Regions from separate parts of the Homo sapiens genome. Here region 2 is linked to region 1. The links are contacts of gene promoters, found by promoter capture Hi-C in blood cells and fetal thymus (Javierre and others, 2016). All regions are on one chromosome and are shown on one strand. Each heading gives the region's core, a stretch centred on a gene start or on the middle of the fragment in contact. The rest is flanking DNA. Distances are from core to core; before and after follow the strand shown.

Region 1 (3,605 bases), core at 799-3,298:
AGCTGGGTGTGGTGGCACATGCCTGTAATCCCAGCGACTCGGGAGGCTGAGGCAGGAGAATCGCTTGAACCTGGGCGGCAGAGGTTGCGGTGAGCCAAGATCGCGCCATTGCACTCCAGCCTGGGCAACAAGAGTGAAACTCTGTCTCAAAACAACAACAACCACCACCAATATTTGCTGAGCAACCATGGTAGACAAAGCTGTACACAGATCCAAATAGATGGCAAAGGGAAGAAAACCCTTGACAGACACTAAGCAAACGTCAGAGTGTGTATCAAACTGAAGAGGAAGGGCCAAGGAGCAAAATGACCAACAACATTTTTAGCAAGCCATAATGACATGGTCTTTCTTTAGAAATTGCCATTGCATAACTTCCCAGAATATTTTCAGACACAAAGTAAAAGTAGAAATCAGTACTTACCTCTAAAACAGGCTATAATATGCACAAAAGTTATATGCAATAAAACAGCCTTCTTATTGTTGGTGGTAAGTGGGCATAAATGTAGCTGGCACACTTTTACAGAAAGAGGCAGAGTTCTCAAGTTCATCTCCTTGAGACTTCATTCCTTTCCTGCATTAAACAATGGCAGCATCCTGTAGAGTGAGCCAAATCTTCCCAAGGCTTCATTATGACTAAAGAAGCCCAACTTGAGGGTGCAAATGTTTGGGTTTGGTGGTAAGCAGAGTCCGATATTGCCACTTCCTTTTCTGGGTCTGCCATGAACCCGGTGTTACAAGAGCAAATCACTTCAACTTCTCACTGAGTTTTTATCTGTGCCACAGGTGCTGTTTAGAGGTATTCCAATAGAAGGAGCAGTATACTGAAGAAATCAGTTAACTCTGGCAAAGAACAGGTGTTCAAGGTGCAACAGGAACACCAAGAATCATTACTGACTCAAAGTCTCTTGTGTGTGCCAAAAGTCAGTGATAGGAAATTTAATAATTAATTCCTCTACCTTTTTTTTTTTTAAGACTTCAACTGCCGAACATCCAGCTAAAGCTTTCCACAGCTGAGGAGCAAGGTAGACCACAACGTACTAGAATATCCTTTTCTGAAGATTTACGTGCAAGTTAAAATGTGTAATTTAATATACAAACATACAGCAGAAAACTTCATGGTTAGTGTTGGAGTCAGCAAGGCTGGCCTAGAAAAAGCTGGACCAGGAGCAAAATTTACAGGGGTGCGAAAACACTCAGTAATCAAGACAAATAATATTTTAATGCAATATTTTTAAAATTCAAAATTAATATTAAAAAATCCACGATGAACAAATCATCACATTATAAAAAATAATTTTAAATAAAGATGTGCTGCACATAACAACATAAGAGCTAGAGGCAAATGAAAAAAATCAATACCAATCTTGTCTTTATTTAAAATTTTGATATTTTCTTCATCATTTCTTTTTTGGCATTGGTTCTGAGTCCTTTAGGTATTGCATTAAAGTATTGTTCATCTTGATTACTGAGATTTTTGGCGGCCCCTTACATTTTGCCATCAGTGCCAGTGTCTAGCTCAACTCACCCTAGTCAGTGCCCTAAGAGTCAGTACCAGTTCCTAGAAAAGACTGCAGGAGCAAACCTGGCCACCTGGGGACCTCAGTGGTGTGGGCCGATTGTCCCCAAGGGAAAGGCTAGAGGCAGATGGGCTCCCGCCTGTGGGCCAGACCCCAGCCTACCTCGCTTATTCTGCGTGCCGTGCTTCTTGGCCAGGGCGATTTCTCTCTGGATTCGATTTTCCAGGTACTCTTGTTTCTTGCCCAGCATCTCCTCAGTCTCCCGAAGTCGGACCAGGGCCTCCTGGGGACTGGGAGCGGCTCGGCTCTTAGAAGAGCCGCCCCCTTTAAAGAACTTGCCCAACTTGCTCATTGCTGTGGAGTTCGGAGGGCCAGCGATCCCGGGGGCCTCTCGGGAGCTCCCCGGGGCCGCGCCGAGGGGACAGGTGAGCAAGGCAGTCCTCTCGGGGACCCAGACCGGAAAGGCGGCCCTCCTGGGAATCAACAAGTCGTCCTGGACAGGTGACACACACTCCAGGGCATTTCCTGGCTGCCAGTTCGGCCCCGCCCCGCTGCACAGCGGCTGGGCGGGGAGGCCACCGCTGGGACGTCGGCTGGCCGGCGCCACCCGGCCCTCTGGGAGTTGAGCGAGAGCAGAGAAAAGTTGAAAAGACCGACAAAGACTGTGGGAAGTTGGCTTTTATCCACACTAGGGACGGTCCCAGGAACGAGGAACTAGTTTGTGAATGGCTCAAAGAAAAGCAAACCGATGTCCAGGGGTCTTGTGCAGGACCTGAAAGTGTAAGTGCGCAAGACTGGATATGCAAAATGCTTTATTCCATGCGTGTCTTTTGTGTGTACGTGAGCATAGTGTTCCTGTATTCAGGCCTCTGTTCTTGTGAATAAGAATATTCAGATCTTTTCCTCTAAGTGTATGTCATGTAGGTATGAGTGTGTGGACACAAAGGCTTCCAGGATATTTGTCTGCCACTAGGATGCAGGTGTGTGGGCAAGCTCGGAGCAGCTGCTGCTACTGGGCTTGTTTCTGCATTTGGTAGTCCGGGCAGGTTGATGTGTGCCTGGATGCTAGTTGGCACAGTGTAGATTCTAGATCATCCTTACAGGACTTGAAGTGGGTGAAAGATGGTGGCCATCTCTTTTCCTAATGTCAGGACTTCTGGAGTGTGTTGGTGGTTGGATTCAACTCTATAACTAGGAATCCGAAGTTTTCTGAATGATCCTCAGTGTATCAAAAACCTTAAATGGGGCTGCCCTGGTGTTTGGCTGTATGTCAAATGCTATTACATAGATACTTAAGTAACAAAAAGTAGAGAATATCCTGGAGAAGAGAAACATTCTTTTGTTCATGCTCACTATCTCAGCCCATCTATTAGATCTGCTGGCAAATAATTTAGTAAGATGAAAGGACAGCCATATGTAATGCTTATAGATGATGCAATACTGCTGCAAACCTGTGTCAAGCACACTACAAAGAAGTGGAATTATCTGTGTTTTACTCTTCAACGATTGCCATGTGCTCTGCATAATATAGCCGTATTTGAGCAACGTTACCCAACATTACCAAAACCTATTTTTGATTGTTAGCCAGCCACTGTTTAAGAGAAAAAAAAAAAAAAAAAACACCCATTACTCTGACAAATTCACCTTGATACCCAAGATCAATAACACAATTTTGTCTGCAAGCATACAAACACAAAGCAGCAAGTTAATCTATTTATCCAACATTGGCATAGATAGCATAAAATTTTGCCAAAGAAATTGAACACTTCCATAGGAGGCTTACAGTAAGCATCTTCTAACACACAAATATGTGAACTTATCATTTCACAGTAACTGCAGCCAGCCACCTCCTATCATTTCCTGGCTGGCCATGTAAAGCATGTATGGTCTATAACACACATTTTGCTCTAATTTCATGTATAAGTTGTCGTAAGTATTGTTTTTCTTTATTATCTAAATATTTCATGAATAAGTTTTGGAGTGTATTTTCTTGATTAGATTTTTAAGGCCCTTGAGAGTTGAGAAGTAGCACATATTCTGCTATTGTTCCCGTTGCTTTTCAGTTTAACTAGCCTTTATTGAGTGTAA
Region 2 (3,605 bases), core at 459-2,958, 85 kb before region 1:
ACATTGCACAGTCTTAGTTAAAATATAGCTATTTGTTTTACAGTGTCTTGAACTACTTTTAAATTATTATGTCATTAATCAGCACAGCAAATACTTTACCATTCTCCATTTTTAGAAGTACTTCACATGTATCTTACATGCCATTTTTTTCTTTTTAATTTTTCGAAATTCAAAAGTTAAAGTTATGTATTTGTCTTCACACTATCATTTATCTGTAAGGGATTCAGTACGAAAATTCAGTATTTTTAATTCTACATCTATTTTTTTAAAGTTCAGGATGGATCTGGATTAATAGCAGTTCATGGCTTTAAAGAAAAGAAAATAGTATCCAAACATTAATATGACAGAACAATTGAAATAAATGAGAATATTCTTTTAAAAAACTACTTGGGAGATATGATAGCCATCTTTACATACTTGAAAGATTTGAAAGATTGTTTTTGGAAGGAAGGATTGATCATGTATATTTAAGAGTAGTGCTTCTCCAACTGTAATGTGTCTGTGAATCACCTGGGATTTGTTAATGCTGACCCTGATTCAGCAAGCGTGAGGGGAAGATTTTGCATTTCTAACAGGTTTCTAGGTGATGCTGATACTGGCTGGTCTAATAACCTCATTTTGAATAGCAAGGCTAACATATAAAATAGGAATAACAACAAGAAGTTAGAGGAAGGTACTATCAGCTCAGATTTTAAAAAGTTACTTGTCATTTCAAGCTGTCCAATATAAAAATGTTCTGCCTTTTGAAAAAGTAGATTTCTCTTCATCTTAACTATTTGAAGAGAGTAGATAACTATCAGTGGTATCAAAGAGGGAATTATTAAATGGGATATGTTTGATTAGATGACAAGTTAGGTTTCTTCTAGTTAAAAAAAATTCAATAATTCTCTACTTGAACAAGAATACTTAAAGATAACTTTTGTACATTTGCAACCTGAACTATCTTTTCACAGGAAATGTGATCATTAATGTCTCTAAGTTGTTTTTATTTTTTTAATTTAAAAAAGAAAATTTAAGATATTCAGAGAAGTTAATCTTAGTATTTATATAAAATGAAAGAAGAATTCAGTTATTTACACAGTAGTTCATATAATGCTATCTCATGAGAATCAACACATTACTAAGGTTGGTTGGATGGTTTTTGCTACAAAATGTTATTTTGGTAGAAATTAAATTACAGATAGTTATAAAATTTGCAATAAAGTCAAATATGTTGTTCTTAAGAGCATAGTTTGAAAATACGGTAAAACTCTTTAAACAAAATTCAAGAGAATCAAAGAAACAGGTGAATTTATAGTACAGATTTGCTCTGATAATTAAAACAATGCTGAGGGATACCATAGGTGATTTCCTTATCTGCCTTTAGTAAATTAAGTCAACACCTGACCCCAATTTTAAAATAGGTTTCCCAAACACAGTAAAAATGTATTCCAGATAATAAAAGGAATAATGGCACACATAGACAGTCAATAAATATTCACTGGATCTAAATAAAGTTATGTAGTCAGTGATTCTCAAGCAAGGGTGAGGGTTTCCTTTCCTAGGGGGAAAAATGTATCAGAATTTCTAAGAAAGGAATTGTTTTCTCAATTACTACCATCTTCCAGAGATTCTTGTGTGTCCTCTCCTTAGAAAGAAAATAGAGTTTGAGGGTATTGACTGCTTTCTTTACTGACTGAGTCTTGTTGAAGCAGAGGAAATGTAATGAGCCACTGAAAAGGTTTTATGTAAATTAACATTGTAAAGCCAGTTTCAAATTTTATTCTGCTACTGATTAAAGAAAGTAAAGCATAGAGTATAACCTTGGAACTATATGGATAAAAACTTAAAGAATCCATTGGATTTCATGTAAGTAGAACTCTAGTGAGCCATAGATCATAAAGATTTTTAGGGAAGGTGAATGAAACAGAATAACCACTCCAAAATGATTCCTCCAGCTGGATACACTGTCAACATTCACTGTCCATCTTGGCTAAATTTCTACTGTAAACCAAAGATATAAAAAGGGATATATGTGTACTCCTTTACCCCTTTTTCTTTCCTAGCAGTAGCAGTCCAGTAGAGTAATTTGTAAACATAAAAGCAACATTAAAGTATGAGGAAATTTGAATATAAAACTGTAAGAAAATAATGTCTCACATTTGTCATATACTGAAAGTATTAAACAGGACCCTTCCATATGTTTCTTAGCAGTTTGCTTTCAGTCTTAAGTGCTATTTCCTCAGGGTTTCATACAAACTTGACCTCTCAATCCCAGATCAATTGATTTCCTAGGAGTCATTTGTATGTAATAGCAGGTGCCCCAGTATAAATAATGGGTGGATAGAAGCATAATATCTACATCAGAAGACCTTGTTCTATTCTGTGCTATCAGCCAACTGCAGTTTTCTACTAGAGGCCATGACTAGAGAGGGTTGCAGATAAATCAGATGTTTTCAGAGAGAAGTGTCCAGCAAGGAGAATCCAAATGAACCAAAGCATAAGACAGAAGAATTTAAAGGTAGAAAAGGACACATATTCACACTCAGGGAACAGATTGAAAGTACAGCTCTACCACCTGCACTTTCTGACAATAGGCAAGTAATTTCACCTCTCTGAAATTCGGTATCATTTGTGAATGAAGATCCAATACTTATCCTAATCTTACCTGATTGTCGTGAAAATTAAATACAATAGAATATGTGAGCATATTAAATACAATAAGATATGTAAAATTCCATTTAACTCTTCATGGACACCTCCTGACATCATCAACCTGTCTGGCCTAATCTGAAACCAAAAGCCCCATTCCCTTTTAGCATAAGTTGACATCCCCTTTTTGTAGTGTATCAAGAAATCCTGGCTGGGTGCGGTCGCGGTGGTTCGTGCCTGTAATCCCAGCACTTTGGAAGGCTGAGGCGGGCGGATCACCTGAGGTCAGGAGTGGGAGACCAGCCTGGCCAACATGGAGAAACACTATCTCTACTAAAAATACAAAAATTAGCTGGGTGTGGTGGTGGAAGCCTCTAATCCCTGCTACTCGGGAGGCTGACGCAGGAGAATCGCTGGAACCCAGGAGGCGGAGGTTGCAGTGAGCCGAGATCACATCACTGCACTCCAGACTTCAGCCTGGGCTGTTAACAAGAGCGAGACTCGTCTTAAAAAAAAAAAAAAAGAAAATCCTTTGTAAAAGGAAATTTGTAAAGATTTTATTTTGCAAATCTAAAATAAGGATCCACATTTATATTTTGATGTGTACATAGAGTTGTCTCTCAGTTCAACAGTCCAAACTTGCTTTTTAGAAAGGCAGGGAGGCATTTTTATTATAAGGAAGTTTGGTTATCTACCTCCTTAACCTGTTTCTCTGATAATAGCAAAGTATAAGCATAACAATATCATTTTTTAATAACTATTTTAAAATTTGTGGTCATTTAGAGATAGGATGGTTAGAATTTTTTCTCTCGAACTATCTAGGGAAAATATTTAAGTAAATTAATATAATAAACATGATTGCAAGGTCAGTCTTTAACTTGTTTGAGAGTAAATGCTTTTCGGTCACTTTAGAAGAATCTACTGAAACAAAAACAAGTGAGGTATAAATTAGAAATTGCATTTATTCATAAAAG

What was found. The method cuts DNA at HindIII sites, captures the fragments that hold promoters and counts their contacts. A CHiCAGO score of 5 or more calls a contact.
Region 2: a fragment that was not itself captured here is called in contact with the fragment with the promoter of CHMP4C in region 1 in 1 of 17 cell types (neutrophils); the score reaches 5.3 in neutrophils.

The regions. Positions count from the first base shown.
Region 1 is chr8:81,730,891-81,734,495 of GRCh38, reverse strand. CHMP4C (charged multivesicular body protein 4C) reads right to left here and starts at 2,048. Exons shown (of 5, transcript NM_152284.4): 1 at 1,680-2,048. The coding sequence starts at 1,869. The HindIII fragment of the contact is 11,241 bases long and covers 1,003-3,605 here.
Region 2 is chr8:81,815,731-81,819,335 of GRCh38, reverse strand. The region is part of intron 4 of SNX16 (sorting nexin 16); the gene reads left to right. Among named protein-coding and RNA genes, the nearest start is that of SNX16, 25 kb to the left of the region's middle. The HindIII fragment of the contact is 4,872 bases long and covers 1-3,605 here.